Linked DNA regions of Homo sapiens: regions 2, 3, 4, 5 and 6 are each linked to region 1. The links are contacts of gene promoters, found by promoter capture Hi-C in blood cells and fetal thymus (Javierre and others, 2016). All regions are on one chromosome and are shown on one strand. The core of a region is centred on a gene start or on the middle of the fragment in contact, and the rest is flanking DNA. Distances in the headings are between cores, read along the strand shown. Region 1 holds the start of UCHL5 (ubiquitin C-terminal hydrolase L5). Region 2 has its middle 110 kb from the start of RGS1. Region 3 has its middle 91 kb from the start of RGS1. Region 4 has its middle 67 kb from the start of RGS1. Region 5 overlaps LOC105371664 (a long non-coding RNA gene). Region 6 overlaps LOC105371664 (a long non-coding RNA gene).

Region 1 (4,560 bases), core at 634-3,133:
GAAGGAACTGTGGCAAAAATGACAGCATGCTAGTCTGAGGGGAGCTGCCAACTGGTTGCCACGTGGTATGGAACTAGTAGTTGCCAGATCTCATTTTTCTCAAAGACCCAGAAATCTGGCTTTTTATGTAAACTCTCAGGATTAAACGTTAACATAATGAAAGGCATCTTAACCCCCTTCTCTGCTTACTTCTAGATTGTGCCAAAGGCTAAATTTTCAGTTTGGTCTTTCTACAATAGGTACCATGTTAATTAAGTTGGGTATCAAGTACATTTTAGTTTTGATGTATTTTGCACAGAAAACATTTTCAAGTTCATAGCAATATTACAGATTAAAAAAAATACCACAAACTACTTTGGGCTCTGATGCCAATCATTCTGGACTCTGTGCCTCTTAAACTTTTCCAATAAAGTATCTCAAGGAAATATACTGTACAGAATCCTCCTAGTCTCCAAGTTGAGGGCAGAGTTTCCGGAGATAAACTTCAAGAAAGTTACAAAAAAAATTTTTTTTAAACCAACACTTCATACAAATTTTGGCTTCTACCCCATAGCGTACTCAGGCTCCTTTTAATACAAAAGCTGCTCTGTTGCTTCCCTCAATAAAATTTACCACGTTTATTTCATGGCTTCACATAATCTGTAGCACAAGGCTCCCTAACTCCAGGGCACAAGTCACCTATTTGAGAAGGAAGGAGTCAGAGTTTTACCCACTAAAACATTTTTTTTTTCTGGAAGCCAAAGGTCTTTCTTGGAATATGTAGCTTTTAAGGAGTAAATATACACTTAACGACTTCAATATACTCTTAAAAACTTTAATCTTAACACTATAGTATTCTATAAGAGCCTGCTGAATGAGGGCAATTTAGTAAATATTTAGTAAATATTTGGTTTAACTCATCATCCAGTTTTAGAACCATTCCAAATGTTTTTAGATTAATACACGACATTTGTTTTCAACCTAATTTTCCCTTGACGCACCGCATCCCCTTCCACTAGTCTAGCAGCCCCATGGACAAACCTTTCTCCTCTCCCTCGTTATTCCTCTGTGATAAATTCACCCTGTCTTCCCACAAAGATCCTTCTTCCAAAACCCAGATCCCGGGCGACGCCTCTCCGCGCAGAAGCCGCGGGAGAAGGAGGAGAAAGAGGAGGAGTAAAGCAGGCCCTCTCGACGTCGGCCTGTGGGGAGCGATGCCGACAAGCAGGAGCGGTCCCGGCTTCGGAAAGGGCCCACCCTGAGGAATGGTCCGGCCGGGCCTAGCGAGGATGTCCCTACCGCGATGCTGGTTCCGTTACCCAGGGTGGACAGGCGCGGAAGCGGGACGGGGAAGAGCGATAGTTTCGCGGCGTTTGCCCAGCCTCAACCCCTGGGATGCGGGTGAGAGACATGGAGGACTGGTCAGAATTTGCGCGTCCCTGGGGCCGCACAAAAGGCTCCCAGCCGGCCTCCCGCAATGTCCTCACCTGTACCTGGCAGCCGACCCCCTGGATCCGCAGCGCCGCCAGGAGAAGTCCTGCGCAGCGCTGGGAAACGACAAAAGAAGGCAGCCTGACGGGCAGCGACAGCCACAGCAACAGCAACAGCCCCACTGCCGCCGGGGATTCCAGGTTCGGTTCCCGGGAACGAGTCCTGCCCCTCTTCTTTTGCCCCGCCTCCGCCCCAGAGGGGCGAGGATCCCGGATGTTGCCTCCTCGGCGCTGTGAATCACCGCCCTTTCTTCTCAGGCCCCAGCCCTTCCGAATCCGCTACGGGTGCTGCAAGGCCTGGGAAGAGTTTCGATGTCTCTAGGGTGGCTAGAGCGTCCTCCCGCGCTCAGTCGCGCTGCAGGTGACGGCGCCCGGAGGCTGTCGGGAAGTAGGCGGGGTGACGTGTGGTTGACGAGCTCGGCGGCGGGTTTGCTGAGATCTGTGGCCGGCGGCAGCTGGTGCGGGGGGCAGCTGAGAGCGAGAGGTGGATCGGGGCGGTGTGTGGCCAGGGCCATGACGGGCAATGCCGGGGAGTGGTGCCTCATGGAAAGCGACCCCGGGGTCTTCACCGAGCTCATTAAAGGATTCGGTGAGAACCAAGGGGACCGTCCTGGGCCTGGGGTCACGGGAGGAGGCCCAAGCTGGGCATGGAGTGGTTCCCTGCGGCCACCGCCGCCCCGCGTCTGGAGAGGTGACTTCAGGAACCTGGAGTCCGGGTGGGGGAAATGTAGATGTTCTGCCCTCTCCTCAGCTCGAGACAGTCGCGTTTCCACAGTAATTTGTAGAGCCACACCACGAGGGCAAGGATCGTGTCAGTCTTGTGCCTGCTGCATCCTCAGGACCTGGCACCCAAATCCTGTAATTGACTTGAGGGCCCTCGCTCCCCAAGCTCTTAAGCACGTATTGCCCTTTGCACTGCCCCTTCTCTGCGGCGCGCACCTTATCCCGGGCTGGTGAGGTCAAGTGCATTGCTCAGGCCATTAGTCCTGCAGAAGCCACCCTAGGGTGCGCCTTCTCAAGGGTGAGGTGTCTGCGGCTCAAGCCGCCCAGGAACTCGAGATTCTGGTTATTCAAAGCAGAACGCCTTGAATGTGTGAATAGCTCTTCGGGACGTCCACACACGCTGACTGCGTGGGCCTGAAAGGCCACTTCACTGGTTCCGCTCTCTGCTCATTTCTGGCTTCCGGTGAAGTGAGTTTTCTTGAGCTAGTGTTCTAGACTAGAGGCCACATGCTTTCCTCACAGTTTCTCTCTGGCTGTATTTAGTGCCTTTCGTCCTAAATAATCAACACATTTTACTTTTTATCCTTCCCTATTTATCTTGTTCTTAGTCTCTTCTTTGGACAGTACGTTTTTATCTATTTCCCAAGTGTTATTGACTCTACGATGTTAAAACTTTTACGCGGGATTAACAATTAAACGTTGATGTAGATATTGCCTGTTGTACACAGCTTAATATTTGGAATGTCATTTATCAAGCATATGTTGTTCATCTTCTATATCTCAGGCACAGTGGTAAGGATTGGGAAATTTTCTTTTTTTTGTTTGAGACAGAGTCTCGCTCTGTCGCCCAGGCTGGAGTGCAGTGGCGCGATCTTGGCCCACTGCAACCTCCATCTCTCGGGGTCAAGCGAATCTCCTACTTCAGCCTCCCGAGTAGCTGGGATTACAGGCACGCGCCACCATGCCCGGCTAATTTTTTTTTTTTTAGTAGAGACAGGGTTTCACCATGCTGGCCAGGCTGGTCTCAGCTCCTGACCTCGTGATCCACCCGCCTCGGCCTCCCAAAGTGTTGGGATTACAGGCGTGAGCCACGCGCCCACCCAAGGATTGGGAAATTTTCATGTGAATAAACCATAACTGCTGTTTCGAATAATTGACAGTCAAACTATAATATGGTGTGTTAATTGCTATGTTAGAGTATATACAAAATGTTAAAAGTACACAGGTCATGGAGGAGCACAGCCAGAAGGAAAAGCATAAACAGTAGTGATGTTAAAGTATATGGGTTAGCCAACAGCTAGCAAAGTGACTAGAACATAATATAGCAGACTGGAGGAATATTTATTTGGATCTGAAACTGAAAAGATAAACTGAGGACAGATTGTATGCCATGTTGTATAGTTTGAATTGCCCTGTAGTGACTGGGGATTTACCTATCAAATATATTTTAATGCTGAAATGACATTATTTTCATAATTAAGGTTTATTGTGCTTTTAAGTGTGCAGGGCAGGTTGGAATAAAGTGAGAGAAGCTAGACATCTCTTAAAATGGTTGGAGTCCGAGATGATTGGCTAAACTAGTGGGTTAGGAAGGAGGAGTTAGATTCAATAAGTTTGCTATATTTAAATCAACAGTTGCATGTGGTAATGTCTGCTCTTCATTCCTTTGGGAGCAGAAATACATCCATAACACGCTAAATTAAAAAAGGAGTTCTCAGGGCTGCCAACCTTACAGTAGAGGTTGAGTGGTAGTATATTACTCCTACATAAGAGAAAAAAAATCAAAAGGACTGCTTACTAAAAGTTGGGGAAAAAAAGAGGCAAAAATAACTCCCTGGTTTCTAGCCTGGGTGGCTGGTGAAACACTCTTACAAGTGAAGAGCAGGCTTGATGGACAAGAAAATGGATTCAGATTTGGACAGACACTGAGTTTGACATGTCTGCAGATTTAGTCATATATTTTACGTTCAAAACCTTAACAATATGTTAAAGTTAACTTTCAGAAATGTTGTACTAGGTAAGTTTGTTTTTACTCCTTCAATTTCATATGTGCAGAAAACTTGGAGATCATGCATGAAAGAATGATATATAAATTCATCTTCTGTACATGCACATATGAAAAATCAGCAGCTATTAATAAATTGGCTTCATTAGCAGAAGAACCTGCAAACAATTAAATGGTGGTAGTTTATGTCACCATCAGATGCTTCAAAGAGAAAATCAGTTTATTCCAATTATTTCCATCATTTTCATTTTTTCACCCAATTTATAGATTTAAAAAAGCTTTTGGCTGTTGATTCTTTCAAAAATGAAATACCTGTATTGTGAATGCTGTCATAAATTCATTTCAAAAGTTCCATCATTGAAA
Region 2 (4,560 bases), core at 1,383-3,882, 590 kb after region 1:
ACATTTCTCAAAAGAAGACATACAAATGAGCAGCAGTATATAAAAAATGCTCAACATCATTAATCATCAGAGAAATACAAATTAAAACTACAATGAGATTTCATCTCACCCAGTTAAAATAGCTATTATCCAAAAGACAGGCAATAATAAATGCTGGCAAGGATGTGAAGAAAGGGGAACCCTTGTAAACTGTTAGTGGGAATGTAAATTAGTGCAGTCACATACGAAACAGTATAAAACTATTTATAAGAACTAAAGCTTATGAAACTCCTTAAAGAACTAAAAATAAAGCTACCATATGTTCCAGCAGTCACACTGCTAGGTATATATCCAAAGAAAGGAAATCAGTATATCAAAGAGTTATCTGTACTCCCACGTTTATTGCAGTATTATTCACAATAGCCAAGATTTAGAATCCACTTAAGTGTCCATCAATAGGTGAATGGATAAAGAAAATTTAGTATGCATATGTACATTGGAATATTATTCAGCAATTAAAAAGAATGAAAACATGTCATTTGCAACAACATGGATTGAACTGGAGGACATCATGTTAAATGAAGCCAGGCACAGAAAGACAAATTTCACACGTCTTCATTCATTTGTGGGAGCTAAAAATTAAAACAACTGAACTCACTGGGATAAAGAATTGAATGATAATTACCAGAAACTGGGAAGGGTAGTGGAGACAAGGGGTCGGGGGAAAGTGGGAATGATCGATGGGTACAAAAATATAGTTAGGTAGAATGAATAAGATCTAGTATTTGACAGCATAACAACATTACTATAGTTGACAACTGTTTATTGTGTATTTCAAAATAACTAAAAGAGTAAAATTGGAAAGTCCCTAACACAAAGAAATGATAAATGCTTGAGGTGATGGATACCTTAACTACCCTTATGTGATTATTATACATTGCATGCCTGTATCAAAACAGCACATGTATCTCTTAAACATATACATCTATTATGTACGCGTAATAGTTAAAAGTTAAAAATAAAAAAAACTAAGAATTGAATTAATTAAATAGTAGATGTGCAACTTGAGGTCTTGTTTTTAGATCCAAGGTAGAACCTCACAAATTGATCTGCACTTAGTAAAGAACCCAACAAATATTTGTTGAATTAATTAAACTTTTAAAAGGATCTGCATTACATTGGCAAGGACTTCATGACTAAAACACCAAAAGCAATGGCAACAAAAGCCAAAATAGACAAACGGGATCTAATTAAATTAGAGAGCTTCTACATGGCAAAAAAACTACCATCAGAGTGAACAGGCAACCTACAGAATGGGAGAAAATTTTTGCAATCTACCCATCTGACAAAGGGCTAATATCCAGAATCTACGAAGAACTCAAACAAATGTAAAAGAAAAAAACGAACAACCCCATCAAAAAATGGCAAAGAATATGAACAGACACTTCTCAAAAGAAGACATTTATGCAGCCAACAAACACATGAAAAAAAAATGCTCATCATCACTAGTCATCAGAGAAATGCAAATCAGAACCACAATGAGATACCATCTCATGCCAGTTAGAATGACAATCATTAAAATGTGAGGAAACAACAGATGCTGGAGGGGATGTGGAGAAATAGGAATGCTTTGACATTGTTAGTGGGAGTGTAAATTAGTTCAACCATTGTGGAAGACAGCGTGGTGATTCTTCAAGGCTCTAAAACTCGAAACACCATTTGACTCAGCAATCCCACTACGGGGTATATACCTAAAGGATTATGAATCATGCTGCTATAAAGACACATGCACACGTATGTTTATTGTGGCACTATTCACAATAGCAAAGACTTGGAACCAACCCAAATGTCCATCAATGATAGACTGGATTAAGAAAATGTGGTACATATACACCATGTAATACTATGCAGCCATTAAAAAGGATGAGTTCATGTCCTTTGCAGGGACATGGATGAAGCTGGAAACCATCATTCTCAGCAAACTATCACAAGGATAGAAAGCCAAACACCGCATGTTCTCACTCATAGGTGGGAATTGAACAATGAGATCATTTGGACACACAGGGGGGAACATCACACAATGGGGCCTGTTGTGGGGTGGGGGGCTGGGGGAGGGATAGCAATAGGAGAAATACCTAATGTAAATGATGAGTTATTGGGTGCAGCAAGCCAACACGGCACATGTATACCTATGTAACAAACCTGCACGTTGTGTACATATACTCTAAAACTTAAAGTATAATAAAAAAAAGAAAAAGAAAAAAATGCAAAACCACGTCTGTGAACTTACATATCACCATCATGGGAACAACTTTTCATTAAAACTTTAAGGATACTGAACAAAAAAAGGACCTGCCTTAATTAAACTTAGCACAGAAAATTACTTATATTTCTTTGATTTCAGAAAATCCAGGAAGACTCAATCACCCCAAGTAATATTCTCGAGAAGATCAGTAATATTTGAAATGCTACTTCAGAAAATCACTTATTTATTCATCAAATCTAGATGCACTATTTATTAGGTACAAGTCACTCTGCTTGGTGCTGGGAATACAAAAAATAGTGGTTTACAGTCTGGTGCAGGGAGTCAGGTGTGCAAATAGCAATCACTTATTTTGTTGTATTTATTTTTTGACCAATGATCATCTGCCTTTTGTTTAGTGAATTCCTCTCCTCATCCTTCTTCTATTTCTTTCTTTATTTCCTAAGTATTGCTCATTTTGGACAACCGGTTAGTTTTGAAGAAGAGTTGGGAGAGGTATCAGAGAGGAAGGTGGGCTTGCGGTTTAAAAATTCAGACAGATTTCTCCAAGTGTTTTGTTATACTCTTCCATATTTTAGGGTAGCAGGAAGGTCCCCTGGGGGGCTCTGCGAAGTCCACTGTGTCACCCACATACGTGTTTTTCCAAATGTACACGCACAGGAGTGCTGAGATCTTTTCTTCTTTTCTAGCTGGTACAGGACTGCTTGCTATTTATATTTTATTTTCTATGCCGCCACTCTCACAGCAAAGGCAGTTTTCTATATATTTCCTCTTTCAGTTCCACCTTCCCGGCCACTTCTTTGTAATACAAAGGCATCAGGGAGGCTCCCAATGCCTGTCCACCCACTGGAATCTTGCTATTCTAGCAGGAGACCACTGTTTGCCCCTTAAGGTGTGATGCAACTAGAGCAAGCCCTGCCCTGAGCACTGTACCAGCGCTCTGCTCAGATCTCCTACAAGCAGTCAATGCCCTGGTCCAATTTTCATTGTACTTCAGAGCTCATCTTTGTATATTTCCATTCAGGGTTATGAGCTTTTGTTAATTTTACTGAAGGTGTAGTGGTCTTTTCTGTTCTTCCCCTTTCTGTTCTTCCCCTTGTTACTTTTGGATAGTTTCTAAGAAGAGAAAAGAAGAGTCAGAGACATTGGCTCAGCCTTCTTTTCCCAGAATTTTCTCAAAAGACTTAAAATGTAGTCTTAGTGAGAGGGAGGGAAAGACGGAATGCTGAAAATTGTTGGTGATAGGAAATTAAAGTTTAAGATTTAAGAGGTGAAGGAATTTGAGATGGTGACACGTTCTAATTTCATCTCCATTCTTTTTTTTTTTTTTTTTTTTTTTTTTTTTTGAGACGGAGTCTCGCTCTGTCGCCCAGGCTGGAGTGCAGTGGCGCGATCTCAGCTCACTGCAAGCTCCGCCTCCCGGGTTCACGCCACTCTCCTGCCTCAGCCTCTCGAGTAGCTGGGACTACAGGCGCCCGCCACCACGCCCGGCTAATTTCTTTTTGTATTTTTAGTAGAGATGGGGTTTCACCATGTTAGCCAGGATGGTCTCGATCTCCTGACCTGGTGGTCCACCTGCCTCAGCCTCCCAAAGTGCTGAGATTTCAGGCGTGAGCCACCGCGCCCGGCCTTCATCTCCGTTCTATCAGAGGTAGAATGGAGATGAAAAATAAAGGAGATGAAGAAGTGAGGAAGCTGAAGAGCAGGGATTTTTACTCCATCATTCAGGTAAAAATGGAAGGATAATTGCAGTAATTGGGATTGGAGGAAAGATTGCGGATTATATAACAAAGTTTTCAGATAATGTGCATTAACTGAAAGCTAAGTGGTGAAAGAATACAAATACAAGCATTATAATGCTGTGTTTAAGAGAGAAGCTGCAGCCCATGGCAGCTTAAGAGATAAATCATTGTATAACAGATGTAGTGAGAAAGTGCAGGCTTAGGGTGGCAATGTCTGCCTGCATCAGCAAGAGCTGGCTGGAATTTGAGAGGATAACAGATTACTGAAGATGCATCTCTGTGTTAGAAGAGATGGTTCCTGCTTTTGCTTGAGTCACAAGAGCGTCAGCAGAATCTGGGCTCACGCTTTTCTAGGTATTTTTTATGATACCCAGAAATTCTGCTAAAACCTGTGGGGGAATTTCTGATTTCATTAAATTTTCACTGTTGTATTTTTGCTGCTTCTTAATTAAGTAATAATAGAGTATGAAGAAAAATGCTATTAAAAAAAAGATTGTGGCTGTTTCCTCCTAATGGAATTGCTTAGTTTATCTCTGGGGTAGATGGTTCTTTTGTTAATAAAAGCACGGGGTAGGA
Region 3 (4,560 bases), core at 745-3,244, 570 kb after region 1:
AATTTCTTGTATTTATTTGATCCTCATTGAGCATCTGTTAGTAAATCACCTTATACTCACTTCACTCTAAGTTTGTGGTGATTATTTTTGTGGAAGTATTGCTTTATGATCATCATTAATAAATATGTTAATATAGTGTGATCTCATCATTTACCCTAAAAATGATTACTGAGTTTGGATAACTACATGCCAATTTATTTTCCTCTTAGGTAACAGTGTTGTGTAACACAGTAGTCTTCTAAAATGGTCTCAATATGTACCACCATTATAAAATATTTTCTTGCAAACTTATTTTTTAAGTTCTCATGAAATTGTGGTAGAATTTGTCATGATGTAAAATTCAGTAAATATTCATTACATATGTATGATATGTCTATAACTTCACCAGGCATAGTTCCTGCCCTCAAGGAATTTATGCAATTACCAATATACAACTGGTCAGTTCACTCTAGGAAATATAAGGCAATAATGGGATGACATTTCTCATCTGCCTTAGGAATGAGTAATATGGTGTAATTTACTGGTAACAGTGAGATTTGGGGAAAGACACTTTGATAAATTACATTGAGGCCAAAGATTTGAGTTGTTCCTAAGGAATATGGCTTCCAGAAACTTCTAGCAGTAGATAATTCTTTTAATTTAGAATGTAGTAAGTGTTTTAACCTTTAGTAATTCTATAGGAAAAGTTTTGGCCAAATCAGTTCTTTGGTAACCTATTTTCTGCTGGCATCTAGAAGGAATTCTTTTTTTAAATAAGCTTTCCACCTACTAAGTTGATTAATACCTGGTCAGACAGATATTTGTTTATTCTAGAGGAGTTAGTGGACATGCACTGACTCACTCACCCACTCATATTCTTCCCTAATGTGACCTTCAGCATGTGTTTTCAAGAGCACTGGTTGGGTCAGTGCCAGCCTAAACCATGGAATAAAACCAAGTAAAATGTTGCACAATCTTAAGAGCTTGGCTGGGGAAACACCACACTCCAAATAATAAGTCTACTATTTTCTATGAAAATTATTACAGTTTATTTAATCTAGTTTTACTTTCATGGGGACAGGGGCGAATTAGCATTAATAGAAAATTCATCTCACCATTCAACAGGGTACAAATAATGCCGCCATAAAATTGAAGCAAAATTGGCACTAATGTAAATTCAAATCACTGTTTAACTTTCAATGCAAACCTGTTAACCAAAGAGAGTTGATCAGAAAGCAGACATAGTGGAATTATTTCTTAAAAATATTGTGGTGGTCCTTTCAAAAAACCTTTCAAAAAACCAGCTCCTGGATTCATTAATTTTTTGAAGGTTTTTTTTTGTCTCTATTTCCTTCAGTTCTGCTCTGATTTTAGTTATTTCTTGCCTTCTGCTACCTTTTGAATGTGTTTGCTCTTGCTTTTCTAGTTCTTTTAATTGTGATGTTAGGGTGTCAATTTTGGATCTTTCCTGCTTTCTCTTGTGGGCATTTAGTGCTATAAATTTCCCTCTACACACTGCTTTGAATGCGTCCCAGAGATTCTGGTATGTTGTGTCTTTGTTCTCGTTGGTTTCAAAGAACATCTTTATTTCTGCCTTCATTTCGTTATGTACCCAGTAGTCATTCAGGAGCAGGTTGTTCAGTTTCCATGTAGTTGAGCGGTTTTGAATGAGTTTCTTAATCCTGAGTTCTAGTTTGATTGCACTGTGGTCTGAGAGACAGTTTGTTATAATTTCTGTTCTTTTACATTTGCTGAGGAGAGCTTTACTTCCAAGTATGTGGTCAATTTTGGAATAGGTGTGGTGTGGTGCTGAAAAAAATGTATATTCTGTTGATTTGGGGTGGAGAGTTCTGTAGATGTCTATTAGGTCCGCTTGGTGCAGAGCTGAGTTCAATTCCTGGGTATCCTTGTTAACTTTCTGTCTCGTTGATCTGTCTAATGTTGACAGTGGGGTGCTAAAGTCTCCCATTATTATTGTGTGGGAGTCTAAGTCTCTTTGTAGGTCACTCAGGACTTGATTTATGAATCTGGGTGCTCCTGTATTGGGTGCATATATATTTAGGATAGTTAGCTCTTGTTGTTGAATTGATCCCTTTACCATTATGTAATGGCCTTCTTTGTCTCTTTTGATCTTTGTTGGTTTAAAGTCTGTTTTATCAGAGACTAGGATTGAAAACCCTGCCTTTTTTTGTTTTCCATTTGCTTGGTAGATCTTCCTCCATCCTTTTATTTTGAGCCTATGTGTGTCTCTGCACGTGAGATGGGTTTCCTGAATACAGCACACTGATGGGTCTTGACTCTTTATCCAACTTGCCAGTCTGTGTCTTTTAATTGGAGAATTTAGTCCATTTACATTTAAAGTTAATATTGTTATGTGTGAATTTGATCCTGTCATTATGATGTTAGCTGGTGATTTTGCTCGTTAGTTTATGCAGTTTCTTCCTAGTCTCGATGGTCTTTACATTTTGGCATGATTTTGCAGCGGCTAGTACCGGTTGTTCCTTTCCATGTTTAGTGCTTCCTTCAGGAGCTCTTTTGGGGCAGGCCTGGTGGTGACAAAATCTCTCAGCATTTGCTTGTCTGTGAAGTATTTTATTTCTCCTTCACTTATGAAGTTTAGTTTGGCTGGATATGAAATTCTGGGTTGAAAATTCTTTTCTTTAAGAATGTTGAATATTGAAAGGATCAACAAAATTGATAGACCGCTTGGAAGACTAATAAAGAAAAAAGAGAGAAGAATCAAATAGACGCAATAAAAAATGATAAAGGGGACATCACCACCGATCCCACAGAAATACAAACTACCATCAGAGAATACTGCAAACACCTCTATGCAAATAAACTAGAAAATCTAGAAGAAATGGATAAATTCCTCGACACATACACTCTCCCAAGATTAAACTAGGAAGAAGTTGAATCTCTGAATAGACCAATAACAGGAGCTGAAATTGTGGCAATAATCAATAGCTTACCAATCAAAAAGAGTCCAGGACCAGATGGATTCACAGCCAAATTCTGCCAGAGGTACAAGGAGGAACTGGCACCATTCCTTCTGAAACTGTTCCAATCAATAGAAAAAGAGGGAATCCTCCCTAACTCATTTTATGAGGCCAGCATCATCCTGATACCAAAGTCGGGCAGAGACACAACCAAAAAAGAGAATTTTAGACCAATATCCTTGATGAACATTGATGCAAAAACCCTCAATAAAATACTGGCAAACCGAATCCAGCAGCACATCAAAAAGCTTATCCGCCATGATCAAGTGGGCTTCATCCCTGGGATGCAAGGCTGGTTCAATATACACAAATCAATAAATGTAATCCAGCATATAAACAGAACCAAAGACAAAAACCGCATGATTATCTCAATAGATGCAGAAAAGGCCTTTGACAAAGTTCAACAACCCTTCATGCTAAAAACTCTCAATAAATTAGGTATTGATGGGACGTATCTCAAAATAATAAGAGCTATCTATGACAAACCCACAGCCAATATCATACTGAATGGGCAAAAACTGGAAGCATTCCCTTTGAAAACTGGCACAAGACAGGGATGCCCTCTCTCACCACTCCTATTCAACATAGTGTTGGAAGTTCTGGCCAGGGCAATTGCCCTGGCAGGAGGCAGGAGAAGGAAATAAAGGGTATTCAATTAGGAAAAGAGGAAGTCAAATTGTCCCTGTTTGCAGACGACATGATTGTGTATCTAGAAAACCCCATTGTCTCAGCCCAAAATCTCCTTAAGCTGATAAGCAACTTCAGCAAAGTCTCAGGATACAAAATCAATGTACAAAAATCACAAGCATTCTTATACACCAATAACAGACAAACAGAGAGCCAAATCATGAGTGAACTCCCATTCACAATTGCTTCAAAGAGAATAAAATACTTAGGAATTCAACTTACAAGGGACGTGAAGGACCTCTTCAAGGAGAACTACAAACCGCTGCTCAGTGAAATAAAAGAGGATACAAACCAATGGAAGAACATTCCATGCTCATGGGTAGGAAGAATCAATATCGTGAAAATGGCCATACTGCCCAAGGTAATTTATAGATTCAATGCCATCCCCATCAAGCTACCAATGACTTTCTTCACAGAATTGGAAAAAACTACCTTAAAGTTCATATGGAACCAAAAAAGAGCCCACATCACCAAGTCAATCCTAAGCCAAAAGAACAAAGCTGGAGGCATCACACTACCTGACTTCAAACTATACTACAAGGCTACAGTAACCAAAACAGCATGGTACTGGTACCAAAACAGAGATATAGATCAATGGAACAGAACAGAGCCTTCAGAAATAATGCCGCATATCTAAAACTATCTGATCTTTGATAAACCTGGGAAAAACAAGCAATGGGTAAAGGATTCCCTATTTAATAAATGGTGCTGGGAAAACTGGCTAGCCATGTGGAGAAAGCTGAAACTGGATCCGTTCCTTACACCTTATACAAAAATTAATTCAAGATGGATTAAAGACTTAAACGTTAGACCTAAAACCATAAAAACCCTAGAAGAAAACCTAGGCATTACCATTCAGGACATAGGCATGGGCAAGGACTTCATGTCTAAAACA
Region 4 (4,560 bases), core at 751-3,250, 550 kb after region 1:
ATGTTTCTTTCTTGCTATTCTACTTGCCAGATCTCTACTGCCCCCAGCTCATCTTGTACCTGGGAGCCAGATAATCTTAAATTAATTTTTCTTGGCTGTGTGCCGTGGCTCATGCCTGTAATCCCAGCACTTTGGGAGGCTGAGGCGGGTGGATCACAAGGTCAGGAATTTGAGACCAGCCTGGCCAATATGGTGAAACCCTGTCTCTACTTAAAATACAAAAAAATTAGCCAGGCGTGGTGGCACATGCCTGTAATCCCAGCTACTCAGGAGGCTGAGGCAGGAGAATTGCTTGAACCCGGAGGTGGAGGTTGCAGTCAGCTGAAATGACGCCATTGCACTCTGGCCTGGGCAACAGAGCAAGACTCCGTCTCAAAATAATAATAATAATAATAAATAATAATAATAATAATTTTTCTCCTTCCATGTTCATCTTAGATTCCCAGGCTCTCCTGGATACAATGAAAGCTTTTTTGGCTAGCTCTGGAGGACTTCTAAAATCTGTTTATACTTTTCAGTCTCCACTATTTCTTTTATTGTTCCCCAAAATGAACCTTCTGCTCCAGACCTGCGATTCTCATGCACACACAAAACATTTGAATTCCTAACCTTCACTCACATGGATTCACCCACTGAGAATGTCTTATTTCCCCCTCCACCTATATGGCAAATCAGAATAGCGTGTCAGTGTTGAGCTTGGGCTCTCATGAAAGCCAAATCATGACGAAATTACAGCTATGTCCTTTGAACAACTTATTAACCTTTCCAGACATTCTTTCTTTGATTTCCTCTTATAGCATATAGGAAATGGGACAGTAGCAGCAACTTATCATAGGTTTTTGGTGGAGATTAATTGAGATATCACACGTAAGGCACTATGCCTGGCACCTGGCATGTAATGAACACAATGAATGTCAGCAATTATTATTTTTATTAAAACACTATTAATCAGTCACCTTTCTGTCACATTGTTCAATTTGCTTTTCCCAAATCACTCTTAAATTTGTAATTGTACTCATATCATTTAGCTTCTAACGATTTATTTCTCTCTCTTTTTAAAAAATACATTAAAGTTTCCCAGACTTTTTCTCCTAACTGGGCTGTAAACAATTTGACAGTAGAGTTGAGGATCCAAACACTTCTCACAACATTCACTGCAACCATCCTGGTCCAAGCCCCTATCATCTCTTCACCTAATTGCAATGATAACTTTATAACTATTCTCTCCATTTCACCAGTGACACCAGCCAGAATAATCTCCTACCATAAACAATAATTTCATTTCTCTGGTCACGACCTTCTAATGGCTTCTTACCTTAGTAAGAGTGAAGACAACGTCATTATAAGACGCTGTGCAGCTTCACCCTCCTTGCCTCTGTGTCTTTGTCTCCTATCATCCTCCTCTCACTCATGCCTCCAGGCACACTGCTCACCTGGCTGTTTCTCAAACACAACAGGCCTCACCCCCGTCAGAACTGCTACTGATGTTGTTCTTCTACCTGAAATGCCGTTCCTCCAAATAGTTACATGTCATTGTTCCTCACCTCAACTCTCAGGTCTTTGCTCAAATGATACCTTTTCAGTGGGGCTGTCTCTGGTCATCTAAATTGAAATTACAATTCCCCCCACTAACCCATAATTTCTATCTCTTTTCCCTGCTTGTGCTTGTCCTTAGTAGTTATCAACATGTACCATACTACATATTTTGTATTTATTGCCTGCCACCTTATGATATGTATTTATGAACACATTTTTACTGGTATGACAGATAAAGCAATCAAATATTTAATGAATGTAATACTTCATAAAAATTCTTACCTTAGTAAGAGTGAAGACAACATCATTATAAGATGCTGTGCACCTTTGCCCTCCTTGTCTCTATGACTTTATCTCCTATCACCTATGTCTCCTATCATCAAATACTTGATGTTATGTAATACTTTATAAAAATTCTTCCATAATTGTTAAAGCAAACTAAATATGGCCTGAGAAGGACTCTATACTATATTTGAGTCCTTGTGGAGGAACTGCAGCCTAATCTAGTGGGTAGACAAGATTGAAACCCTAATTTAGGAGTATGGGCCTATTAACAGTGGCTGAGTCTTGGCCAGTCCCAGCAGCCATACTTCAACCAGTCATTCACTGCTGAGTGTTCAAGCTGTATTCAAATAAGGTAAATGCCAACCTGTAATCACTCCAGCTGTTCTGTACCTCACCTCTGATTTCTATACGTCACTTTTCTTTTTTTTTGTCTATAAATCTGTTCTGACCACGAGGCATACCTGGAGTCCTTCTGAATCTGCCATGATTCTGGGAGCTGCCTGATTCACGAATCGTTCATTGTTCAATTAAACTCCTTTAAATTTAATTTGGCTGAAGTTTTTCTTTTAACATTATTAAGCATAGGACTAGAAATGTTGTGGATACTCATCATGGTTGCAGTGTCTCTTTCTATGTGAATTTAGAGGTTTTTTTACTTCTGTAAGCCTGTTTTCACCTGGTCCATTTTAATTTCTTTTTTTTTTTTTTTTTTTTGATGAGTCTCGCTCTCTCACCCAGGCTGGAGTGCAGTGGTGCAACCTCCGCTCACTGCAAGCTCCGCTTCCCGGTTCACGCCATTCTCCTGCCTCAGCCTCCCGAGTAGCTGGGACTACAGGTGCCTGCCACCACGCCCGGCTAATTGTTTGTATTTTTAGTAGAGATGGGGTTTCACCATGTTAGCCAGGATGGTCTCGATCTCCTGACCTCGTGATCCGCCCGCCTCGGTCTCCCAAAAAAGTGCTGGGATTACAGGCATGAGCCATCGTGCCTGGCAAATTTCTTACATACATAGTGGATACTTAACTCTTCTTATATATATTATTATTTCATTTGATATTTAAAACATTCATAGGATGTTATTAGTTGTGCTGTGTAGATGATAAGGAAATGTATCTCAGAGCACTCTTCAATTATTCTATCCTTTAGATTTTAAATAGCCCTTATCGTCCATATTATATTTAAGGCACCTGATTATTTTCCATCTCACGTTGTTCTCTGTTTCAGTCTTCTATGCCATATTTCTTTATAAATATTATTCACTCATTTATGGATAGGTAGCATTCAGGTACTAAGAGAGTATTAGGTGCATAGTAAGGGCTCAATAAATATGTGTTGAGTCAATCATAAAGAGTCATAATATCTTAAATCGAATATACTTTTTATTTTAGTTGGAGCAACAGGTCTGTGATCCTAGGGAGAAAGAGCCACTCACTTATATATTCGTCTCCTACTAAATCCTTTGAAAATAAGTACCACTCAATTTCGTGCATAAGAATATATATGTATCTATATGCAAGAATATCATATATATTTATATTACTGGAATTCACTAAATATAGTGGAATGGCATCCACTGGGTTGAGGATGAAATAGTACATTTAAAAGAAATTCCTGTAATTTTTTCCCCTTGTTTAGAAATTAAAATCAAAGCAGACATTTTAATTAGGGATAATTGAAATATAGAATCAATAAACCATAGAATCAAGCTTTATATTGATTTTTTAAGTCATTCAGAGAGATGGCGTTTATGCCTAAGAATTTTGAGGATAAAACCAGTCTTTTAAAAGATTCCTGATTTTGTGTACTTGCAATTTCTACATTTCTTCTTTATCCTCATCATCTCTTCCCCCTCCTCCTCCTTTGCTTTCTTCATTTTCTTTTTCCTCCTCCTCCACCATCTCCCTGTTGTCCTCTTGCTCCATATATTCCCTTTTTAAATTGTATTTTATAATAATTTTGAGAAAAAATTTCACAATGAATCAAATGCTTCCAGAGAGCTGAAATCAAACTTATGGATTTACTCAATGGTTTTATTCAATGGTATAGAATAGGATAACTCAGTGGAGGGTCGGGGGGAGTGTGGGGAGTGGCTGGGGAAGGGAGCCTGAAGTGAGTTAACTTATTTTCCCCGGGCAAAGCCAAAACAACACACCTAATTTATTCATCAATCCAATTGCCAAATATATATATCTAGGCTGTCTTAGCTTTTTGGGAGACACAGAAAAATATTAAAACATGATCTTAGCCTGTGAGGAATTTATAGTACAGCTGGGAAATGGATATTTAAGTGAGCTAAGTAGTTAACAACACATGATACACATGAATATAATTAATGTGTGACATTTTAACTGTAATCTGTACCAAAATAACGAAGAGATTAATTATAACTTTCACTCCAGTTAAAGTTTCCTGTTGTAAATATTGACTGAGTTACATTGAACCTGATTGGGATGAACTGATCACCAACCTGAAATTGGATGTCTAATAAGAGTAGTCGCACACTGCCTGCATGACCTGAGGGGTCCCCCTAATGGTTAAACAAGTCTCTGAAAGATGGCCAGGAAAAGGAATGTAGACAATGGTTAGAAGGTTAGAGTTAATGTTAAGTCACTCCTAAACATCCACATATGTTTTATTCAGTGTAGCTACATCTACAGTGAATAAAAAACTTAACATTTGAAAAATTTATATTTGAAATATATTTGAAATAAATATATATACATAATTGAAATTTAAGGT
Region 5 (4,560 bases), core at 821-3,320, 530 kb after region 1:
TGAATAACTTGCTCTCTTACTTCTTTCAGATTTTACTAAAATCTTAGCTTCTCAATGATGCTTTCACTGACCATGATATTTAAATTGCAACCTCTCAAAACCCTTTATCCTCCTTTTCTGATTTATTTTTATTCACAGCAGTTATAACCATATAAATTCTATATATTATTGCCAGTTTTTACTGCCTGTCTCCTCACACTAGAATGTAACTCCCAGCAGGTATTTTTGTCTTTTTGTTCATTAGTATTTTCCTGGTGCCTAGAACAGTGCCTGCTGCATACTAGTGCTCAAGAAATATTTGTTTAATAAATGATGGATATATTTTTTACATACTTGTTTATATGCATATATAATTAAAGTCTTCAATAAGTAGAGGGAAAAGTTATAGATCTTACTTTAGTCCACTGAGAGAAGCTAGGTAAAAAAGAAATCACAGAGATTCAGTGAGATATAATTATTTTTGTTTTAAAAAATGAAATATTATGTTTTATTATATATTTTTATGTATTTTATATATATACACACAACTTATTCAGTTCTGCATAGAATTTTTCTACTACTCTCCTAACTTGACTCATTTTTGTTTGTTTGTTTATCACTGTGACTAGAAGGCAAGTTCTGTAACCACATCATGTGACATCTTGACTCTAATAGTTATTTTCAGCTCTAAAAGTTTGCATGGGTCAGTAGCAGTTCTCTGGTACTGGCCACTCACAGGTTCCCAAGCTGAAGAGGAGGAATCTTCTGATTCTGCTACCATTCAGCCTATGGAATATGAGTGAAAGAGTAAGAAGGAGGTAGAGAGTACCTGATGTTACATCACAACCCTCTTTTCCATGACTGAGTTTTCCCAAATTGTGCAAATACCCTAATTTCCAGGCATGTCTAATTATCCTTTCCAAAACATGAAAATGACAATAAGAAAAAAAACTTAGAAGAATACATGCATGACCCATGTATCTTTGGTAACCTCTTGTCGTATATCTTTGTTAGCATATGTCTATATATATTTGCGTGTATGGATGTGTATCTCTGGGCACGTGCCTAGTTTTAAAATATATTTGAAGCTGCTCAAGAGAAGGAAACTATTCCTGAGAAATCCCCAATATTTTGTCATGGAAGCTGAGCATTTGACTTTACTCATGACTTCCTTGGCCAGAAGTAAATGGCATAGAGCTCTTGTGAAAGTGAGTAAAAGCGAAAGCCTTTTTGTTCCTGGAATCCAGTGGGAGTCTTAACTTGATATTCATGGATAGTTTCCTTTAGCAAACCTATATTCTATTTAAGGTGTGTGAGTTAGCCTGAGTTTATTCTGTTATCATTCAGTGAGCCTCTCCTCTGACAAATGATTATTCCTGGATCTGGTCACTGAATGGTTTAGTGAGTAGACCTCATACTGTCTTCTGGAAACTCTAGAGAGAGGCAATAAATGACCATAGCAAGTTCTCTTTTTTCCTGTGGAATATATATAGGTTGGTCATGTGAAGGTGAATCAAACGATTTGAACTTGATCTTTTCCTATCATGATTTTGTGACCTCAGGCTGCTTACCACATGAGTGGTACTCATTTGCTTTTTCATTGTGTGGGTTCTTTGTATTGTTTGCAGTGTTAAGTTCTTTGATATTATGTACCTTCGGATTTATTGATAGTATTTTATTAACTTGCAGTTCAATATGAACTTGTTAATATCCAGGTTTAGTTATTACTTTTGTAAGTTACACTTGCATTTAGTTGTGAATGATATGTTTGTTGCTTATACCGACAGAAATGGACAATAGAACTTTGCTATTAGTACCAGGTAGTTCTGTAGAGATTAAACTGAAGGCTGTGTAAAATCAAGATAATTCATTGAGACTGACTAAGTCCATATAAACTTGTAGTTTACTAACAAATAACTTACACATATTTAATTAGTAATTTTTGTATTCAGAATTTTTGTATTCAACAATTATTTACTGGTTCCCATGATCTTTTGGGAATTGCTCTAGACACTGGGAATATAGCAGAGAAGAAAACAAATCAAGTCCCTGACTTCATGAAACTTATATTCTAGTGGTGATGGTGGTGAAGACAATAAGCACATCAATAAATGATATAATGCCTGATAATATGAGCCATGAGAGAGAGAAAAGAAGTAGAGGACAATGTTGGAGAATAAGGAAGGGAAATCAGGAAAAGCCTCTTAGAAGACCTGACATTTTAACAGAGACCTGAGAAAAGTCATAATGCAAGTTATAACAATATCTCAGGGAAGTGCATCTGGACAAAAAGAACAGCAAGGGCCGGGCGCAGTGGCTCATTCCTGTAATCCCAGCACTTTGGGAGGCCAAGGTGGGTGGATCACCTGAGGTCAGGAGTTTGACACCAGCCTGGCCAACATGCTGAAACCCCATCTCTACTAAAATACAAAAAAACTAGCCAGGCGTGGTGTCGGGTGCCTGTAATCCCAAATCCCAGCTACTTGGGAGGCTGAGGCAGGAGAATCACTTGAACCTGGGAGGTGGAGGTTGCAGTGAGCCGAGACCACACCATTGAACTCCAGCCTGGGCAACAGGAACGAAACTCTGTCTCAAAAAAAAAAAAAAAAAAAGACAGCAAATCTAAAGGCTCTGTGGCAGTAGTGTAATGGGTGGTGACAAAAAGATTGATAGGGTTAAAGGTATCAGCTGTTACTAGGCCAGATAAAGGAGGATCTCATAGACCAACCTAATGAGCTTGGGTTTTATTTTGAGTGAGATAGGAAACCAGTAGATGTTTCCAAGAAGGAAAATGATAGAATTTTGTTTATATTTTCAAAAGAATTCCTGTTTTCTTTGGAGAATAGATTAATGGGAGAACAGGGTAGAAAAATGGAAGCAGAGAAACCAGATAGGAGACTATTGCAGGAATCCAGGGGAAAACTGATGGCACTTGGTCTAGGATTCAGATACAGTAAAATTCGGATATAGAGTGGCCAGGGCTTGCTGAAGGAGATGATGTAGGTTGAGAGAGAAAGAGGGGGAGCCAAGGATGCCTTTAGGCTTTTGGGTAGAGCAACAGATGAATAATGGTGGCATTAAGTAACAAGGTGAAGACTGTGGGAGGAAGCATAGGTTTGGATGGGTGGGTGGGAATCAAGAGGTCATTTTGAGAAATGTTAAATTTGCAAAGCCCTCTAAAGATCCGAGGGGAGATATTGAAAAGATAGTTGGATACAGGAGTCTGGATTTTAGGAGAGAGGGGAAGGCCGGGATATAAACTTGGAGGACATCAGCACATAAATAGGACTTGGTGGGAACACCTATGAAGAAGGAGCAATATTGAAAGGTTGGGAAGAAGGGGAGGATCCAACAAAAAGGAGGGGAAAGGAAGAGGGAGAAGACCTAGAGAGTGAGATCTCTTGGAACCAACTGAAGAAAGTACATATTTTCATAAGGAGGGGGCCTATGTGTTAAATGCAGCTGATAGATTAAGAAAAAGAATGACAATTAATCACTGCAATTTGAAGCATGAAGGTCCTTGGACAATCATTAGCAAGGTGTGGAAACATATTTCAGTCTCTAGAAGATTCTTTTTTTTTTTCACCTCAGATCTCTATTGTCTGGTAATACTTTTCTGTCTTTCTTAGTAGTCAAAATTCTGTGGTCATCTAATTTGCAGTAATTAACTCTTTGTAGAAAGCCTTTTGTTTTCCTTTATAAGCTATATGGAAGGGCCTTTCCTTCTTGGTCGTTACTTAAAATTTAGAATTTAGACTGTTCATCTGTTATTGTACTTTCAAACATATTTTACTGCTCACTCTCTCTGACTTGTGTGTTAGAAATTTTAAGGCAGCTTTTGAAAATAAAATTCAATTTATCTTTTCCTAGGAATGTCCTAATAATGTCCTACTTCACATGTTCTTATTAAACCCACTTGCCAATGTTGCTCCAACTATGTGCTTATTTTCTGGGATCTTAATGTTTCAGAAGTAATGATTTCTCTAGTAGGGAGAGATTGGGCTCTATGTCTATCAAAAGTGTTCCAGGTAAATTTGTGATGAAAATAATATTTCCTAGGGAAGATTTATTTATCCTCCTCTTCCTTCTCAGTATTTCTGTTAGATGTTTGCCTATATAGTCATTGGTTATTCGGTGGGAAAAATTAACTTTACAGTTCTTTAAATGTTGAAGAGGAAAACATCTTTAGAAAGGGCAGAAGGTCAATGAGGTTGTGTTAGGGGAAACCACACGTTTTACCAACACCTTCTCACTAGCTGCCTGGAACATAGAAAAAGGAGGAATTGGGAAAATTCTGTTTTAGTTGGCAGTTGGTAGAACTTTAAATGTGGATTTTGGAATTTGTAGTTCATATTGTGTTTCTGTCTGGGAACTGGGAGGGCACTGAAGGCAGAACAAACTATCCATTTATTTGGCAGGAATTTTTGAGACATGAGAAGTCTTTTCAGGATATGATAAAAATAGCCACTGCTGTGAGCATGAGTTCTACCAGAAGTGCCAGTGCCAGAGCATACTGGCCATTCTGATTTCATCAGCTCAGGTGGCATTTTGAGGACTTACTCTGTATCCAGCACTGTACAA
Region 6 (4,560 bases), core at 1,288-3,787, 520 kb after region 1:
CAGGTCCTTCCTCAGCCTGCATCTGCTCCTTCCTGCCTTGGATACCATCTCAGCTCATGATTTTGATACAAACCTCAGATATGACTTTCAATAGGGATTGCATCCAGAAAGGCATTCAGCTTATTCCATCTTCTATGCCCTCTTATTTTTGACTATCGTACAATATTTTTGTGCATTTATGCTTTCTTCAGATCGCCTTTACTTTAAAAAGAGGAAGTAGTAAGAGTGAAGTTGTTAGTATTCTCAGTGAAATATTCTTTAAAAGTGGGGATAATCCCATCAGCTATTTTAGCTAAATTTCTTGGAATAGCCAATATTGGGATTATAATGGTAATTATTTGGAAAAATAGTATTAAGTTTTATAATACTATTTTTCCAAATAATTACCATTATAATCCCAATATTGTAGCCAAAAATATTAATGTCCCTCAAAGAATTCACATATTTTGATACAGATTCTGTTTTTTAATGTTTGTGCTATTTCTATGAGGTTACAAGTTGAAAAAATTACCATTTTATTTTAAAGGTGGGGAAATTTTCCAAGCTTCTCTAGGAGTGAATGCAGTGGAGATTAAATGAGACTACTCATTCACAATCTATAGCTCTTGATTCCAGGTTGTTTGCATTTTTCATTCACAGTCTATAGCTCCTGATTCCAAGCTGTTTGCACTTCCTCATTAAAAATGATTAGGAATGATGAGAAAAATGGTAATAAGTTTACTGTTGCTGGAAATTTTCAAGTTGTCCATGGAGGTACTTTCTTTTTAGGAAGGAACATACAGTGTATCACAGTTCTTGCATGAACCCCTTTAGAGGAAAAAAAAAGTTCAAAGGGGATGTCCAGAGGCGATCGCTCTGGGACTACAGTGAATTGATACTTAGTCAACAGGGGAATTTCTCAAGCTTTCTTAAAGCTTAACCCACAACCACACCTGTCAGCAGTTTCTTCCAAGTGAGAAACATTTACAAGTATATTACGCTTAAAATGTGAAGAATCTTCGAGTCCCTCTTAAACAACTGTTTTTATCCCTTCAAGAGAACTGAATCTAAATAATGGGACTCTGCATGTTTGGCAAATTACTCATTTCCTGAAAATGCAAAACCTAAGTAACAGAAATGAGGATAGCAACACGCTGTGCAGTATAAGTGTGTTTCAAAGGATTCAAGCTCCTCTGAAATATTTCTGTTTAATCGAAGGCCAAAGAGAGTAGAACTCTTACAGTCTTTCTCTACTCCAGGCAATTTCTCTTTTAAAGCATCAGTTGGAATTTCCTTTTTTCATCAATTGACAAAAGCAATTCTTTTTTTTTTTTTTTTTTGAGATGAAGTCTTGCTCTGTCACCCAGGCTGGAGTGCAATGGTGCGATTTAGGCTCACTGCACCCTCTGCCTCCCGGGTTCAAGCGATTCTCCTGCCTCAGCCTCCCGAGTAGCTGGGATTACAGGCACCTGCCATCATGCCCAGCTAATTTTTGCATTTTTATAGAGATGGGGTTTCACCATGTTGGCCAGGCTGGTCTTGAACACCTGACCTCAGGTGATCCACCCACCTCTGCCTTCCAAAGTGATGGGATTACAGGTGTGAGCCACTGTGCCCAGCCAAAGAACGATTCTATTAATGTTAATTTATTTTGTAGTTTATAGTTCCTACACTAAATTGTAGTTTCTGCAGATGAATTTTGGAGTCATGTTGTTTATTAGTGTTTACTTTGAAACTATATGTGGACTAGAAAGTTCTAATATTTATGGGATTGGTTCATAATACTGAGTAGTACTTGAAGTATTTAGTCTGTCAGACTTTAGGTAAAATCACAGGTTAAATATTCTGGAGAGAGAACACTATCTCTCCATTAAAAGATATATAGAAAATGTGGTTTCATAATAAATCATTATGATATTTAATGATCTATATTGTTTAAAATGAACCAATGTTATATTTTTATAGAAATAAAAAATTATTCTTATAATCTAATTGGCTATCAGTTGACCTACAAAAGTTGAAGAAAAAGAGCAGAAAGAATAAGTCTCTCTTGTCTAAGATAAAGCCAGACATTACAGCAGTGAAAACAGATTTTCTTCAGAAACGACTGACAACAGGAGAAAGAACTGATCCCAGTGCTTTAGGAGGCCGAGGCAGGAGGATTGCTTGAGGCCAGGAGTTTGAGCTCAACCTGGGCAACATAGCAAGATCCTGTCTCTAAAAAAGTTAAAAAAAAAAAAAAAAAGAAGAAGAAAGAGCTGAACTCCATTCTGATTTGTGCAGAAGTGACTGAGTGCTTTAAAGGGAAAATGAGGGAGTAGGGACAGGGAGCGAGTGAAGTCGTAGGAGCTGCATATATATCTCCAAAGGGAAAGAGACAGGATTCACAATTATAATCCTTTTTTAATAAGTGCACTGAGAAGGAAATATCAGGGGCCTATCATCAGGTATTAGCCAGAACAAACAGGAAATGCTTTTGACACCCATGAGCTTTTGAAGGCAGAAATTCATGAGATGGTTGGGTCATACCAGGGGTGTGAACTTAGGCCGCTTAGAAACCATACTAGCTACTGTGGGTCAGGTCTCTCAGTGCAGGGATTGAAATTAAGTTGTTATATGCCGAGACTTCTTTTTCTCTCTTTTCTCTCCTCTCCTTCCCTTTGTTCCCTCTTATTTTGTCAGGATGCACTAACGGAAACAGAAATTACCACTATAGGTATTTTAAGCAAGAAGGATTTTAAAAATACGGGACATGATGTACTTAAACAATTATTGAAATGTTAAAGGAGAGGATAGTAGGCTGGGTGTTCAGGACTGACCCCAGATTGACTCCACTAGGAAGCTACTGCCTCTGAGGTCTTCACTAAAGCTGTAAGTTTAGGAACAATTCCTGGAGCTGCTATGCAGTCGTTAGAATGCTGGAATTAAGAAGTGGGGCACTGCTACCATTGCAACTGCCTTCCAACACTAATAACACCCGAAAGTGGATTCTCATAGCTACAAGCTAGGTATTGACTCTTGACACCCAAGAACCTGTGGAATAGGTGCCGGCAGTTTACTCTAGAAACACCTTATGTTTCCACAACTTTACATGCAAACAGAAATAAGAAGATAGCTTTGACCTTGCTGCTTGCTTCCAAATCTTCTAATAAACAGAAACTAACTTGCATCAGAATACTAGCTACTCAAGTATCTTCATGTCTTTTCATTTTCCTCCCCTCCTTTTCTCTCTTCATCTTTTAAATGTATGAATACATGCTTGTTCCATGAAAAGTGCTAAACATTGCTGAGCTTTAAAAATTATACATGAAATAGGTGAACTCCATGCTTTTATGTAGTCACAGTCTACACAGGGGAAAAAAGAGGATTTACTTGTTGTAAATAAATAAAGTTAAGTGCTGTACTAAAACTGTGCATGCAGGGTTTTGGAAGCATGAAAGAATTTATCTCTAGAAGGAATCAGAAAAGTGGTCATAAACATGGCCCTTATATTGTCTATGAAAAGATGAATATGAGGTTGTCCAATAAGGAGTGTGTTGGGGGCATCCTCTTAGATAGAGGACACAGTCTATTTGAAAATACAGGTTTAAGAAAGTTTGGTGGGCTATGACTGGGTGCAGTGGCTCACTCCTGTAATCCCAGTGCCTTGGGAGGCTGAGACAGGAGGATCACATGAAGCCAGGAGTTCAAGACCAACCTGCTCAATGTAGCAAGACCCTACTTCTAAAACAATTTTTTAAAAATTAGCTGGGCATGGTGGCATGCGCCTATAATCCTAGCTACTTGGGAAGCTGAGGCGGGAGGATTGCTTGGGCCCAGGAGTTCCAGGTTACAGCGAACCCTATGCCACCGCACTGCAGTAGCCTGGACAAATAGAGTGAGACCCTATCACAAGAAAAATAAAAAATAAAGAATAAAAAAAAGTTTGGTGAGCTAAAGGAATAGCAAAATGTTCAATACAGTTCTATTATAAGGATAAGTCGCTCCAATTCTAGAAAATAGTGGAATATAAGAACTTACCTCTAAGTATAAGGCCGTGACCCCTGAAAGAACAATAATAGCTAAATAAATTGCTACTTTGTCTTTCTCCAACATTGCTTTATTGTTTGCTATAGGAATTAGATCTAGGCCAATGAGAGTCAATATCTGCTTTCTTGATAAACATTTTCCCTCTAAGCTTCCAACTCCGTATTTATTTATTAAGCTTAAAGTAACACAGAATGTCTTCATTATTATGCAAATAAATATTTCATTTTTGGATTTATTTAACAAATATCATGTGCCAGTTTTGTCCTGGGAATAGTACTTAGTACATAAGAAAAGCTGATGACTGTGTCTATGACAAGGAATCTTTAGTGAGGAAACAGACATGTAGACAACTTCAATATAAATCAGATAACTGGTTTGAAGGAGTAATGTACAGAATGCTATAGGAACTCAGAAAACAGCTTTCCTATGTCACCTAGAGACAGCAGGGGCCTCATGGAGGAAGCAGCATTTAAGCTGAGAAGCAAAGCCTGAGTAGGAATATTCTAGACAGTTTAATATGTGAGAGTGGAAGGATATTCTAGGAAAAGGAAA

What was found. The method cuts DNA at HindIII sites, captures the fragments that hold promoters and counts their contacts. A CHiCAGO score of 5 or more calls a contact.
Region 2: a contact is called between a fragment that was not itself captured here and the fragment with the promoter of UCHL5 in region 1, in 5 of 17 cell types (neutrophils, total B cells, naive B cells and 2 more). The highest score is 13.7, in neutrophils.
Region 3: a fragment that was not itself captured here is called in contact with the fragment with the promoter of UCHL5 in region 1 in 2 of 17 cell types (neutrophils and M1 macrophages); the score reaches 8.6 in neutrophils.
Region 4: a contact is called between a fragment that was not itself captured here and the fragment with the promoter of UCHL5 in region 1, in 7 of 17 cell types (neutrophils, total B cells, naive B cells and 4 more). The highest score is 10.9, in neutrophils.
Region 5: a fragment that was not itself captured here is called in contact with the fragment with the promoter of UCHL5 in region 1 in 1 of 17 cell types (neutrophils); the score reaches 10.6 in neutrophils.
Region 6: a contact is called between a fragment that was not itself captured here and the fragment with the promoter of UCHL5 in region 1, in 10 of 17 cell types (neutrophils, M2 macrophages, M1 macrophages and 7 more). The highest score is 10.7, in neutrophils.

The regions. Positions count from the first base shown.
Region 1 is chr1:193,056,683-193,061,242 of GRCh38, reverse strand. It overlaps UCHL5 (ubiquitin C-terminal hydrolase L5), which reads left to right and starts at 1,883. Exons shown (of 11, transcript NM_001199261.3): 1 at 1,883-2,058. The coding sequence starts at 1,983. It overlaps RO60 (Ro60, Y RNA binding protein), which reads right to left and starts at 1,631. Exons shown (of 9, transcript NM_001173524.2): 1 at 1,467-1,631. It also overlaps SCARNA18B. RefSeq lists enhancers at 732-1,464, 1,532-2,061, 1,465-2,197, 2,222-2,531. The HindIII fragment of the contact is 5,498 bases long and covers 1-4,477 here.
Region 2 is chr1:192,462,464-192,467,023 of GRCh38, reverse strand. No RefSeq gene overlaps it. Among named protein-coding and RNA genes, the nearest start is that of RGS1, 110 kb to the left of the region's middle. The HindIII fragment of the contact is 4,743 bases long and covers 261-4,560 here.
Region 3 is chr1:192,482,226-192,486,785 of GRCh38, reverse strand. No RefSeq gene overlaps it. Among named protein-coding and RNA genes, the nearest start is that of RGS1, 91 kb to the left of the region's middle. The HindIII fragment of the contact is 2,469 bases long and covers 760-3,228 here.
Region 4 is chr1:192,506,644-192,511,203 of GRCh38, reverse strand. No RefSeq gene overlaps it. Among named protein-coding and RNA genes, the nearest start is that of RGS1, 67 kb to the left of the region's middle. The HindIII fragment of the contact is 3,059 bases long and covers 471-3,529 here.
Region 5 is chr1:192,524,224-192,528,783 of GRCh38, reverse strand. All of the region lies in intron 4 of LOC105371664 (a long non-coding RNA gene), which reads left to right. Among named protein-coding and RNA genes, the nearest start is that of RGS1, 49 kb to the left of the region's middle. The HindIII fragment of the contact is 6,156 bases long and covers 1-4,560 here.
Region 6 is chr1:192,541,595-192,546,154 of GRCh38, reverse strand. All of the region lies in intron 4 of LOC105371664 (a long non-coding RNA gene), which reads left to right. Among named protein-coding and RNA genes, the nearest start is that of RGS1, 32 kb to the left of the region's middle. RefSeq lists an enhancer at 946-1,005. The HindIII fragment of the contact is 3,242 bases long and covers 917-4,158 here.